5 separate regions of the Homo sapiens genome follow, and regions 1, 2, 3 and 4 are each linked to region 5. The links are contacts of gene promoters, found by promoter capture Hi-C in human tissues and cell types (Jung and others, 2019). All regions are on one chromosome and are shown on one strand. The core of a region is centred on a gene start or on the middle of the fragment in contact, and the rest is flanking DNA. Distances in the headings are between cores, read along the strand shown. Region 1 overlaps NPLOC4 (NPL4 homolog, ubiquitin recognition factor). Region 2 overlaps NPLOC4 (NPL4 homolog, ubiquitin recognition factor). Region 3 holds the start of NPLOC4 (NPL4 homolog, ubiquitin recognition factor). Region 4 overlaps LOC124904077 (translation initiation factor IF-2-like). Region 5 holds the start of SLC38A10 (solute carrier family 38 member 10).

The links. Contacts are between HindIII fragments. The study calls those that stand out against the background at their distance.
Region 1: a contact is called between a fragment that was not itself captured here and the fragment with the promoter of SLC38A10 in region 5, in 2 of the 25 tissues and cell types used here (dorsolateral prefrontal cortex and liver).
Region 2: a contact is called between a fragment that was not itself captured here and the fragment with the promoter of SLC38A10 in region 5, in 3 of the 25 tissues and cell types used here (IMR-90 fibroblasts, dorsolateral prefrontal cortex and liver).
Region 3: the fragment with the promoter of NPLOC4 here is called in contact with the fragment with the promoter of SLC38A10 in region 5 in 6 of the 25 tissues and cell types used here (bladder, dorsolateral prefrontal cortex, liver and 3 more).
Region 4: a contact is called between a fragment that was not itself captured here and the fragment with the promoter of SLC38A10 in region 5, in 1 of the 25 tissues and cell types used here (dorsolateral prefrontal cortex).

The regions. Positions count from the first base shown.
Region 1 is chr17:81,600,556-81,603,255 of GRCh38, forward strand. The region is part of intron 8 of NPLOC4 (NPL4 homolog, ubiquitin recognition factor); the gene reads right to left. Among named protein-coding and RNA genes, the nearest start is that of NPLOC4, 35 kb to the right of the region's middle. RefSeq lists an enhancer at 871-1,030. The HindIII fragment of the contact is 4,537 bases long and covers 1-2,700 here.
Region 2 is chr17:81,578,443-81,581,142 of GRCh38, forward strand. All of the region lies in intron 12 of NPLOC4 (NPL4 homolog, ubiquitin recognition factor), which reads right to left. Among named protein-coding and RNA genes, the nearest start is that of FAAP100, 27 kb to the left of the region's middle. The HindIII fragment of the contact is 4,699 bases long and covers 1-2,700 here.
Region 3 is chr17:81,635,663-81,638,362 of GRCh38, forward strand. NPLOC4 (NPL4 homolog, ubiquitin recognition factor) reads right to left here and starts at 1,450. Exons shown (of 17, transcript NM_017921.4): 1 at 1,254-1,450. The coding sequence starts at 1,268. It overlaps TSPAN10 (tetraspanin 10), which reads left to right and starts at 1,534. Exons shown (of 4, transcript NM_001290212.2): 1 at 1,534-1,744. RefSeq lists a silencer at 1,180-1,389. The HindIII fragment of the contact is 41,196 bases long and covers 1-2,700 here.
Region 4 is chr17:81,012,078-81,014,777 of GRCh38, forward strand. It overlaps LOC124904077 (translation initiation factor IF-2-like), which reads left to right. Exons shown (of 1, transcript XM_047437254.1): 1 at 1-1,940. Among named protein-coding and RNA genes, the nearest start is that of BAIAP2-DT, 21 kb to the right of the region's middle. The HindIII fragment of the contact is 3,807 bases long and covers 1-2,700 here.
Region 5 is chr17:81,294,046-81,296,745 of GRCh38, forward strand. SLC38A10 (solute carrier family 38 member 10) reads right to left here and starts at 1,262. Exons shown (of 16, transcript NM_001037984.3): 1 at 778-1,262. The coding sequence starts at 876. RefSeq lists silencers at 738-807, 908-1,177 and an enhancer at 1,838-1,927. The HindIII fragment of the contact is 25,998 bases long and covers 1-2,700 here.

The DNA.
Region 1 (2,700 bases), core at 35-2,534, 310 kb after region 5:
TAGCCACAGATAAAACACATGCGACACGCCTCCCGGCTTCTCTCCTTCTCGGGTTGTGCTGCACCTTTTACCAGGGCTGCAAAACATGTGGCATGCAGGGCCCAGCTGATGTGTGCTGCACAGCTCTGCATCAGGAGCACTCAGGACTAAGGCAAGGCAAGGTCTACACACTCTGCCTGTTTTAAAAGTTCCTTCATCAGGGAATTAAGTTACTTTCAAACTTCCTTGGATAAGTAGCTTCACTCCAAACAGGTTTGGCTAAATTAGGCAAGACTCAAACTGTAAGGTAACATCCATTCCCACAAAACAGCCTTGGAAAATCTGTGTGCCACTCCTGCAGAGACAATGCTTGGCTTCACAGCTAAGATACTCAGTTACAGGGACACTATGAACTCCACAGAGAGCGATGAGCTCACCAACCCTAAGGAAGGGAAAAGGTGTTCAAAAATCAACCACCTCCTTTCATCTGGCACAGGGCAGTCGATGAGTTGTAGCTTCGACTGGCTCCCATGCAACTGAAACCAACCACAGCACATCACTTCCCAGAGTGGACCAAGCTTACCGAAATCATTAATGTTCACTTAAATGTAGCTTGCGGGTCATTCAAAGGTATCATTCTATGCAGAAACCCCAGCCATAAGAATAGGAAAGGTAAAGGTAATCTCAAATTGAGTTACAGTAACTGGGCATATCCTTGTAAATTAGTGAAAATCTGGCAAACCACAAAGAAGTTTACGTTTGCTGGGTATTACCCATATGGAGGTCATTAATACCTCCAGAACGTAGGTTAAATCACAAACTCAGAGAAAAAGCTAAGGAAAAGGAGTTGTTTAATGACATGTGGCAGCATAAGCTGCATAAGCAAATTTTTGTGTGTGTATTTTTAGTAGAAACGGGGTTTTGCCATGTCAGCCAGGCTAGTCTTGAACTCCTGGCCTCAAGTGATCTGCCTTGCCCCTACAAAGTGCTGGGATTATAGATGTGAGCCACCACGGCTGGCCTCAATTATACTTTTAATAGAACCGTTGAGCTCTCCATGAAAGAGACCCTTTAAAAAAACTGAATCTGAATACTGTGTGCTTCGAAAAGCAGCATCCTGAGTACAGCACAGTGACCTAAGGGTTGAGACTTCACTGGCGGGGTCTCTACTGCCATCTAGTGTCTCTTTTTAAAAGAACCATGGCAAAGGCCTCATGAAACACTACATCTATTGCTATACAAAGATACCAAAAATGTCACTGAAAATCCGTATAAATACAGCCAAGAAAGACACACATTTGTGCAGGGGCCACTAGCAAGCCTGTACACCAGCTGTTACCCATGCATAGCCTGCAGTTTCAGACTCTGATCAGCAAACTCTGAAAGCAGCTGCAGGGCACCCCAGCCTGCCTCCCAGGCAGGTTATCTAAATAGGAGGCTAGCCATCCGGTGATCTCCACAAGACAGTGTTAGGTGGAAAAAGTGCACATATTATACGTACAAAGAAACAAAGAAGGGGGATAGTATGAATGTGCGTGCATGCATGCGTGTGTGTATGTGCTTACACTAAAAATGTCACATACAAAAAAAACAAAACTAGCCAGGCTCAGTGGCATACACCGATAGTCCCAGCTACTTGGGAGAAAGAGGTAAGAGGATCTCGCTCAGGAGCGAGACCTTGTTTCAAAACAAAACAAAACAAACAAACAAACAAACAAAAAACAAACTTTTGCCAAGCACAATGGCTTATGCTGGTAATTCTAGTACTTTAGGAGGCCAAGGCAGTAGGATCACTTGAGGCCAGGAGTTTGAGACCAGCGTGGGCCACACAGAGACCCTCCCTGTATAAAAAAAAAAATTAAACAATTAAACAATTAAAAAAAAATCAGGCCGGGCGCAGTGGCTCACGCCTATAATCCCAACACTTTGTGAGGCTGAGGCGGGTGGATCACGAGGTCAGGAGTTTGAGACCAGCCTGACCAACATGGTGAAACCCTGTCTCTACTAAAATTACAAAAATTAGCCAGGCGTGGTGGCGGCACCTGTAATCCCCGCTATTCAGGAGGCTGAGGCAGGAGAATCACTTGAACCCGGAAGGCGGAGGTTGAAGTGAGTGGAGATCATGCCACTGCACTCCAGCCTGGGTGACAGAGTAAAACTCCGTCTCAAAATTAAAAAAAAAAAAAAAAATCAAACTTCAGGAAGTCCAACTAAAAAGATTTAGGCTGAGCATGGTGGCTTATGCTTGTAATCCCAGAATTTTGGTAGGCTGAGGCGAGTGAACTGTGTGAGCCCAGGAGTTCCAGACAAGCCTGGGTAACATGGCGAGATCTGTCTCCACACACACTATATATGTATATACACATACATACATATATATGTATATATACACACACACATATATATATACACACACATATATATACACACATATATATACACAAATACACACACACACACACACACACACACACACACACATATAAAAGTCAGACATGGTGGTGCACGCCTGTAGTCCCAGACACTTGGGAGGCTGAGGCAGGAGGATTGCTTGAGCCCAAGAGGGCTGCAATTGAGGCTGCATTGAGCCATGATGGCAGTACTGCACTCCAGCCTGAGCAACAGAGTGAGACGCTGTCTCAAAAAGAAAAAGGTTTTAAATTCTAGGGGCTACCTATAAAGGAAAGCAGGGTAAAAGGAAATGAATATACCTTGTTTGTA
Region 2 (2,700 bases), core at 193-2,692, 280 kb after region 5:
GCTCTCAACAGATAAACGGTACGACTGGTCCGTTTTCTCACTGCTATAATGAACTGCCCAAGACTGGGTAATTTATAAGAGGTTTAATTGACTCACAGTTCAGCATGGCTGGGGAGCCCTCAGGAAACTTACAAGCATGACAGGAGGGGAAGGGGAAGCAAGGCACCTTCTTCACAAGGTGGCAGGAAAGAGAAGTGCCGAGCAAAGGGGGAAGAGCCCCTTATAAATCTAACACATCTTGTGAGAATGCACTCACTATCACTGAGAACAGGATGGGGGAACCACCCCCATGATTCAATTATCTCCACCTCATCTCTCCTTGACACCTGGGGATTGTGAGTCAAGATGAGGTGTGGGTGTGGACACAAAGCCTATCCATATCACAAAGGGTGCTAGGGGGCGTCCATTTTCTTCTTACCAATCTACAATATTTAATTTTTTCATAATAAACATACATTTCATTTCATATTTAAAATGTTCCATATTTATTTATTTAGAGACAGGGTCTCACTATGTTGCCCAGGCAGGAGTGTAGTGGTGCAATCAAAGCTCACTGCAGCCTCGAACTCCTGGGCTCAAGCGATCCTCCTGCCTCAGCCTACTGAGTACCTGGGGCCACAGGTGCACACAGCATAGACTGCATGCATTACTGTTTAGCGTGGTGGCTCACGCCTGTAGTTCTAGCACTTTGGGAGGCAAGGCAGGTGGATTACTTAAGGTCAAGAGTTTGAGACCAGCCTGGCCAACATGGCAAAACCCCTCTCTACTAAAAATACAAAAAAGAAATTAGCTGGGCGTGGTGGTGGGCGCCTGTAATCCCAAGTACCTGGGAAGCTGTGGCAGGAGAACTGCTTGAACCAGGGAGGCGGAGATTGCAGTGAGCCAAGATCGTGCCATTGCACATCACCCTAGGTGACAGAGCGAGACTCCATCTCAAAAATAAATAGACTTCGAGCTGTCTGATGCATGTGGATCTTTAGATTTGAGACCCTCCTGCTGCCAGCCTCTCCCTCCTACCTGGACAACACCCCCTTCACAAGTTCCTGGTCTAAAAGGTGGTCTCCACTCCAGCCTCCCCCTTCAGCTGACCCTGTGGCTTCCTGTGAGCAAGCTGATCCCCAAACCTGCATCCCATCGCTCCTGCCAGCTCCACCCACCTCTGCCTCCCATCCTCATTGTACTGACCTGTCTCCAGATGCCCCAAAGCTGTCCCTGACACACGGACCATGCCCCTTCCTCTCTGTGTGCCAATTAGCTCCTTTGCTGGACACCAGGAAGCAGTACATGCCCATGTCAGTATTTCCCTTACGTTAATAAAAACCCAAACAAGAAAACTTCTCAATCCCACTTCCCATACTGGTGACTGTCCTTTGCTCTCCCTGGCAGTGAAACCCCCCGAAAGAGTCATGCAGCTTGCTGATGTGAGCTCACCCCCCATTCTCCTCTGTGAGCTCACCCCCCATTCTCCTCTGTGAGCTCACTCTCGGCAGCCGCTTATCTACTACTCAGCCAGGCTCATCAAAGCTCCCAACACCCCTGAGCTGCTGAAGGCAAAGCCTCCTCTCCTGACTCACCAGGGAGCTCCTTTCTTGCCTGCCTTCCAGGGCGCTATGCTCCTGCCCCTCCTCCCCAGCTCCTGCCTCCCAGTGCTCTCCACCTCATTCCCCCAAGGTGGGGTTCTCCTCAGCCATCCCCTCCAGGATGGACAACTCGGCCTCTCACCAGGCCTCAAGCACCACCCCAACACCATCTGTACCATGTGCCTCTCCCAAGCAATGCGCTCACCCCGGGTGGTGCCTCTGCACTAGCACATCGCCGACAGATCCCCAGCCTTCCAGCCTGGCCTGGACACCCTGGAGTCTGCCTGCCTCTTCTCTCGATCACACCACACACTCAACCCCCTCACTACTGCACAGCCATCTCTACTCTCTACCCTAGTCTCCTTTTCCAGCTCCGAGCCCAGCAGCCAGAGTGATCGTCTCACAGCCCCGGCACAGCCATCTCCCTTCAGCACCTTTCAGAAGCCCTCATCTCACTTCCAACCATAGATTCAGCTTCCAAGGGCCCCTCCCACCTCTACCCCAGCAGGCCACCCTGCTTATCACTCTCTGTGTGGGGAACAGGCTGCTGCCTCTGTCTGAACAATCTCCTCCAGACACCCCCAGAGCTGCTCTGCCAATTGACACCTTCTCTCCCCTCTCAGGACTCGACCCACCAGGGCACTCCAAGCTTCTCTACCCGTTCCGCTGGGGTGGCCCACCTCCCCTGCTGCAGCAGTCTCCCCGATGCAGGGAGCCCTTCTCCATTCTCCATGAACTCCAGGGCCTGGCAATTCACAGGTGTTCTCTAAACATGAGAGAATGGATGCCGTGAGAGCATCGCACAGTGAATCAGGTCAGTGCTACCAAGGGCTTGGCCACCCAAACACAACAGCTCTCGCTCCCCGCTCAGCTCTGAAGGGCCCAGGGCCAGCCTCCCATGCCCACAGCTGGGGGCCTGGGAGAGACATGGCATGGAAGTACAAAATCCCCAGTGGCCCTGGGCCAGCCCACCCGTGGGCTTATGCCCGTCAGACTATTTCCTCATGGCTGAAGGAGAAGAAAATAGAGATTTTAAAACACAGTAAGGCTGGAAGCGGTGGCTCACACCTTAATCCCAGCACTCTGGGAGGCCAAGGCGGGTGGATGACCTGAGGTCAGG
Region 3 (2,700 bases), core at 200-2,699, 340 kb after region 5:
TCCCAAAGTGCTGGGATTACAGGTGTGAGTCACCGCGCCGGGCCTGGAGACCTATTCTAGACAACACCTGGCAAAACTGCAGAGACTGTCACAATGCTACAGTATGAACATTACTCTTCACCCAATACTGCTAAGCTTCCCCCAGAAATCCCAAATCTTCCTTAATATTAACCAAAATGCTCCTGTCCAATGGTCAGTTAGTTTTTTTCCCATCACATTTACTTTTGGGAAGAAACTTCTCACAACTTAACGAGGGACTGGTTTTCTGATTTGTCACTGATATTTTTTACGTTAAGGAGGAGTGTGTGACAATTTTTTTTTTTTTTTTGAGACGCAGTCTCGCTCTATAGCCCAGGCTGGAGTGCCATGGAGGGATCTCAGCTCACTGTAACCTCCACCTCCCGCGTTCAAGCAATTCTCCTGCCTCAGCCTCCCAAGTATCTGGGATTACAGTGCGCCATGACGCCCGGCTAATTTTTTGTATTTTTAGTAGAGACAAGATTTTGCCATGTTGGCCAGGATGGTCTCGAACTCCTGACCCCAGGTGATCCACCCGCCTCGGCCTCCCAAAGTGCTGACATCACAGGCGTGAGCCACTGCGCCGGGCCGACAATTTCAATTTCAGGTAAAAAGTGAAATCAACATCATTTACAACATTCCTTTTAAAGAGGAATTGTCAAGTTGTCCTTCCAAGTAAGGAGCAAAGCCGGCAAGTTACTGTGTTTTCATTTTCCCAGGTCTTCTGGTGGGGAGGGAGCTCTGTAACGTCCCCGTCTGCAGAGCTGCTCTCCTTAGTGACTCATGACAAGGCACTTGCTGGGAAGCGGGAGAGCAGGAGGAGAGAATCAGAGGGAGATTAGGATAAGAGGTGTCCCTGGCTCTGAGAGGGGCAGGACTGGCTGGGAGTCCCTGGAATTAGACCAGGAAGTCTCCTGGAGCCGGGAAACGGGTGGGGAAGGAGGGCGGTTTCTCTTCGCCACAGTCCATTCTCCCTGCTTAGAAAGGCTCGGCCTTTCCCTGCCCAGGGCGGGGAACCGGGGTCGTAAGTCCCCTGGGGAGGGACACGGACGGGAAGCAGCCGAGGGGGGTGAAAGTCCCCGAGAGGGGCCCAGCCACTACAGAGAAAGCCCTGGCGAGAGAAGAGAAAGGGGCCGAGTCGCGGCGCCGGCAGGCCCGCCTCCCCCACAGGCCGAGGCCGGCAAATCTGCTGCCTCATCCCGGCGTCCCCGCTCCCGCCCGGCCGCCGCACTCACGATGCTCTCGGCCATGGCGGCTGCTCCTGCCTCCGGGCTCGAGCCCCGGGCCGCCGCCGCCTGCCGCCCCAAGGGCCTCGCAGACCCGGCCGCGGCCTCAGCCCCGGCCCCGGCCTCCCTACGCCGCCGCCACCGCCGCTCCAGCTTCGCCCGCCCGGCTCCGCCAGCCGCCGACGTCCCGGTGCCTCGCTCAATACGCTCCCCTCGGGCGCGAGGCCGGGAAACCAGGTTCCGGCCCCACCAACGGCTCGACGCATGCGCAGGGCGGCGCCGCTGACCCGCCCCCGCCATCCCTGCAACTGGAGGAGGGGATTTTGGAAAGTTGCGTCTGAGATTACTTCTGCTCGTCCTCGGAAACCCAAGCGGCACAGGAAAGTCCAAAAAGGAAGCAAAGACGAGCATCCGAAGTCTCACCCAAAAATAACTACTGCTGCGTATTATAGCGTATTATAATTGGGGAAACAGCATTCCAAACTTCTCTCCATGCACAGGTAAGTAGAGAAACAATTTCAGGAAGGCAGGATCACACCTTCATGTTTTTTTTTTTAAGTATTTTTTAAATTTAACATAAGAAAAACAAACGAGTTTAAACTGCATTTCAGGCCGGGCGCGGTGGCTCATACCTGTAATCCCAGCATTTTGGGAAGCCAAGGTGGACGGATCACCTGAGGTCAAAAGTTCGAGACCAGCCTGGCCAAAATGGTGAAACCCCGTCTCTACTCAAAATACAAAATTAGGCCATACGCGGTGGCTCACGCCTGTAATCCCAGCACTTTGGGAGGCCGAGGCAGGTGGATCACCTGAGGTCAGGAGTTCAAGACCAGCCTGACCAACGTGGTGAAACCCCGTCTCTACTAAAAATACAAAAATTAACTGGGCGTGGTGGCGGGCACCTGTAATCCCAGCTACTCGGGAGTCTGAGGCCGGAGAATCTCTTGAAGCGAAGAGGCGGAGGTTAGAATGAACTGAGTTGGTGCCACTGCACTCCAGTCTGGGCGACAGAGTGAGACTTCATCTCAAAAAAAAAAAAAAAAGACGTCACTTCACAGATTCTAAGGATTTTTGGAGTTGGATACCAGGAAACCGGAAGACTAAATGTATACATATTTCACAACATCACAATTACTGTGACAGTTTTTTTAAACTATGTTAAATTACATTAATTGATTAAATTATGTTAGTAATTGTATTAGTTTGCTCAGGGTGCCACTGTAACTACCCAACATATTGTCCCTGCCCACTGCCTAGACTTTATCAAGACAGGGGAATTGCAATAAAGAGTTTAATTCACACAGAGCCAGCTTGTACAGGTTACTGAGGTTTTATTACTACTCAAAAAAAATTAGTGTCCTTGAGAATTCAGGGATCAGAGTTTTTTGTTTTTTGTTTTTTTTTGTTTTTGAGTCCGAATCTCACTCTGTCACCCACACTGGAGTGCAGTGGCGCG
Region 4 (2,700 bases), core at 61-2,560, 280 kb before region 5:
GTGGGCATGTAAGGGAGAGAGGGAAAGAAGAAGGGGAAGGAGCGTTTGCAATGAGCTAGAGACTAGTCTCCTTTCCAAATAAGGAAAGGAATGTGAGCTGGTACTGATAAGCCTGGTCCTGTGGCGTGTCCAGGCATCTAACAAAGGCAGAAAAGAGAAAAAGGAAAAAGGGGTGGGGGAGGTACTATGAATTAAGGAAGAAAGGATTGATCAGGCTATTTGAAGAGAAACCTCATCATATCCCACATCTACTAAAACTACAAAAATGAGCCGGGTGTGGTGGAGGGCACCTGTAATCCCAGCTACTCGGGAGGCTGAGGCAGGAAAATCACTTGAACCTGGGAGGCGGAGGTTGCAGTGAACCAAGATCACACCACTGCACTCCAGTCTGGCGACAGAATGAGACTTTGTCCGCCACGCAAAAAAAAAAAAAAAGTTTGGAAAATGCGCAGCCTGGCCATGTGGCAGAGAAAGGAAAAGCTTTTTCAGGAGAGGAATTCAAGCAGAGTGTGGAGGAACCACTTCTTAGAGATATTTGCGTGTTTGAAAATGAGCCGAGAGGTGATGACCAAGCCAATGGAATGATGACCTTCATGACAGCCCCTCCCATCACAGGCCCTGAGGCCTAGGGGAACGAAATGGTTTTGTGGGCCAGGCCCAGGGCCCCACTTCCCTATACAGCCTCAGGGCAGTGCTCCCCATATGGCATCCCAGCAGCTCCAGCTCCAGCCTCAGCTCACAGGGGCCCAGGTACAGCTCAGGCTGCCACTTTGGAGGTTGCAAGCTGTAAGCCTTGACAGCTTTCACATGGCATTAAGCCTGTGGGTGCGCAGAATGCAAGAGTGAAGGCTTGGCAGCCTCTGTCTCGATTTCAGAGGATGTATGAGAAAGCCCAAGTTCCCAGGCAGATGCCTGCTGCGGGGGGCAGAGCCCCCACAGAGAACCTTTACTAGGGCAGTGCCAAGGAGCAATGTCCACAAATCCCCAAAATCCCATCTGACTAATTGAGAGAGTTGGAGCCCCCACACAGAGTCCCCGCTGGGGCACTGCCTAGTGGAGTTGCGAGAAGGGGCCACTGCCCTCCAGAATTCAGAACGGCAAAGTCATCAGCAGCTTGCACCCTGCGGTTTCACAAGCACTCAACAACCTGTGAGAGCAGCGTTAGGGATGGAACCTGCAAAGCCCCGAGGGCGGAGCTGCCCAAGGCCTTGGGAGCCCACCCCTGGCACCAGTGTGCCCTGGATGTGGAGCATGGAGTCAAAGGAGATTGTTTTGGAGCTTTCAGATTTAACACCTGCCCTGCTGGGTTTGGAACTTCCATGGGACCTGTAGTCCCTTTCATTTGGCTGATTTCTTCCTTTTGGAATGACAGTACTTACCCAGTGCCTATATTCCTATTGTGTCTTGGAAGTAAATTACTTGTATTTTGTTTTACAGTCTCATTGGTGGAAGGGACATGCCTTGTCTCGGGGGAGACTTTGGACTTTTGAGTTAACGCTGGAATCAGTTAAGATTTTGGGGGATTCTTGGGAAGGCATGATAGTATTTTGCAATGTAGGAAGGACGTGAGATTTGGGAGGGGTCCCGGGTGGAATGATATAGTTTGGATATTTGTCCTCACCCAAATCTCATGTTGAATTGTAATCTCCAGTGTTGGAGGTGGGGCCTGGTGGGAGGTGTTTGGGTCATGGGAGCTTGGGCCATCCCTTGGTGATAAGTGAGCTGTCTCTCTGAGTTCACACGAGATCTGGTCATTTACAAGTGTGTGGCACCTCCCCCATCCCCCCACTTGCTCCTGCCTTTGCCATGTGATGTCCCTCCTCCTGCTTTGCCTTTGACCATGATTGGAAGCCTCCTGGGGCCTCTCCAGAAGCAGATGCCGCTGTGCTTCCTGTACAGCCTGCTGAACCACGAACCAATAAGCCTTTCTTTATAAATGACCCCGTCTCAGGTATTTCTTTATAGCAGTGCAAGAATGACCTAATACAAAAAGACAATCAACAGGCCGGGAGTGATGGCTCATTCCTGTAATCCCAGCACTTTGGGAGGCTGAGGCAGGCAGATCACTTGAGGTCAGGAGTTCAAGACCAGCCTGGTCAACATGGTGAAACCCCATCTCTACTAAAAATACAAAAATTAGTCGGGCATGGTGGCGTGCACCTGTAATCCCAGCTACTCAGGAGGCTGAGGCAGGAGAATCACTTGAACCCAGGATGGGGAGGTTGCAGTGAGCCAAGATCACACCACTGCACTCTAGCCTGGGCAGCAGAGCCAGACTGCATCTCAGAACAAACAAGTAAAAGGATGGGGAAAATATATCACAGAAACCCTAATCAAAAGAAAGATGGAGTAGTTGTGTTAATATCAGGCAATGTATATTCAAAACAAATATCAACAGGGATAATGAGAGACATTACTCAATAATAAAAGAAGGCAAAACAATCCAAATTGTGTATTCACCTAACAATAGAATTTCAAAACACATGAAGCAAAAACTAACAGAAATGAAAGGTAAAACAATTTCTTACAGTTAGAGACTTTCACCCTCCTCTTTCAGTATTTTGTTGTTGTTTTTAGTCAGGGTCTTGCTCTGTCACCCACGCTGGAGTGCAGTGGCACAAACATGGCTCACTGAAGCTTCAACCTCCTGGGCTCAAGTGATCCTTCTGCCTCAGCCTCCCGAGCAGCTGGGACTATAGG
Region 5 (2,700 bases), core at 12-2,511:
CTCTGTCGCCCAGGCTGGAGTGCAATGGCGTGATCTCGGCTCACTGCAACCTTCGGCTCATTGAAACCTTCGCCTCCCAGGTTCAAGCTATTCTCCTGTCTCAGCCTCCCAAGTATCTGGGATTACAGGCATGTGCCACCACCCCCGGCTAATTTTTGTATTTTCAGTAGAGATGGGGTTTCAGCATGTTGGTCAGGCAGTTCTCGAACTCCTGACCTCAGGTGATCCACTCGCCTCGGCCTCCCAAAGTGCTGGGATTACAGGTGTGAGCCACCACCCCCTGCCAAATGTGCGGTTTTTGTGAAACGCAGATCTTAGGTGTATAACCTGGTGGATGTTTTTAATCACCTTGCAACCAAGGTCCCTATCTAGTGTCGAAGCCTGGGAGTGGTGAGTTGTGTGCTTCTGAAGACAGGTGCAGTTGGGTCAGAGTTTTTAAAAACACGATAAAATGTAAAAATACGGAGTCCCACCGTTCCCTTCCGATTCTGGAGGATCATTTTGCTTTGTTACACTTTGCTTCGGTATCGAGTTTTTGAGTGTGGGGAACTTTCCGGCCCGGGCTGACAAGGGCTGCCAGGGCCAACGCCGTGCGCTTCTCATCCACGGATTCTCTACGGGAACTGCGCCGGGACCCAGAGGGTCGCCCCGCCCGCGGCCGCCTGCACCCGCCCAGCGAAGCCCTGCCCCGGCGGGAACTTTAACCAGGACGACCCAGCCAGACGCCCCCTCTGCGGGGGAGGCGAGGGCGGTGATCTCCGGGCCCACCGGACTCACCTGTTTGAAGCAGAAGGGCATGGTGAGGACACTGACCCCTACGATGCTGTTCACGATGTTCGTGATCAGCCCCCAGTTGGAGGCGGCGGCCGCGGTCATAGTGAGAGGTCTAGGGGCCCGGGGCGAGAGGCCTCGGGGGTCGCCGGGCTGCGGCCGGCTTTGGAAGCCCAGCCCGAGGCCACGGTCACAGGTCCCAACGTCCGGGACGCCGGTGGGGAGGGGATGGGCAGCCTGAACACGGGAGCCTGAGCAGGCGCGGGCGCGGGCCCCAGAGGCTGCCTGGAGGAGGCAGCCTCGAAGGCCGGCTGCGGGGGCGAGGTCAACCTCCGGACCCCGCCAAGCCCTGCGGCCGCCTCAGGGCCATGCGTCCCTCGCTCGGCCTCGCGGGCCGCCTGTGAATCTCCGAGCCCAGACCCGGAAGAGCCGCAGAGCCAGCTAGGGACACCTCAGCCCAACTCAGCTGCCGCCGCGGCGCTCACACTTCCGCCTTCCACGGGCTCCGTTGCCCGGAAGTGACGGCCAGGGGGTAGGGTTTGGTGGGACGCGAGCCAATGAGAGGCGGGCCCGGAGGGGCGGGCGGAAACTGGGCCGGTGGGCACCTGAGGGTCTCGCAGCTGTCCGGTTCGCCAAGCTGGTCCAGCCGACCTGTGCCCGGGGCCCCAGTTCAACGAGCTGGAGGACAAGGGACTCGCCCCGCGAGGCCTCGGTTTGGATGGGCAGTCGCGGGCTGGAGAGAAGGGGAGGCGCTGTGCCTTCCGGGGAGGAGCGGGTTTAAGGGTTCCTTTTTGACCTTTATTCCCAGGACCGATTCTGGGGCGAGTGCTTGGCGCCAGGGCACGGGGGCGGGGGCCCTGACTGCCTCAGCCGAAAAATAGTCTGTTGTGAGGAATTAGCACCTAGGAGGTAGGAATGAAACGCTGGGCACAGAGAGGCTCGGCCACTCCGCTAAGGCCACACAGCTCCAAGGGGAGGCGGTGCCCTGCCGAACTGCGCCCAGATCAGTGGCAATGTTGAACTTCACCTTTTCACACGAAAAGAGCAAGGGACATTCCTGGAGGGGACAGGAGAGGTGGAGGCTTACATGAACAGGGAAACCCGGGAGGGCTTCCAGAAGGAGGTGGCTTCTAGGCTGGAGCTTGAAGGACAAATGAGAATTCCTCGGGTAGAAATGGAGACCGGGGAGAGGAGAGAACAGAGAAGGGTCCCGATAGATCTGTGGATTCCTGGCACCTAGCTGCTCACTCTGAGTCTAATGAATGAGCGCGTAGACCGAATGGCTGGGAAGCAGCAAGTGATTCCAGGCTGCTGGGGGAGGACGGCGGAGGAAAGGAGGCCGTGTCTGCAGCACCTGCAGGACCAGGTGTCTTAGAACAGAGGCCCGTTCCTCAGGCACTGGCAGTGCAGCCACCAAGTAAGGCTGTGCCCCACCTTCAGGAGAACAGGAGGAAATGCCTGGGTAAAGACTAATTAAATACGCAGGCAAAATAACAAATGCCTGCGTTCTTTTTTTTTTTTTTCTTCAGTCAGAGTCTTGCTCTGTCGCCCAGGCTGTATATGCAGTGGTGTGATCTTGGCTCACTGCAACCTCCACCTCCCAGGTTCAAGCTATTCTCATGCCTCAGCCTCCCAAGTAGCTGGAATTACAGGCTCCCGCCACCACACCCGGCTAATTTTTGTATTTTTAGTAGAGACCAGGTTTCACCATGGTGGCCAGGCTTGCCTCAAACTCCCGACCTCAGGTGATCCGCCCACCTCGGCCTCCCAAAGTGCTGGTATTACAGGCATGAGCCACCGCACCCAGCCCATTTACTTTTATATAAATGAAATGGCATACACATTCCATAACCTCCTTTTTATTATGTAATTTTCATCAAATGTTATGCATGCGAGGTAGGCTGGGCAATTTACATGTATGTTTTCACA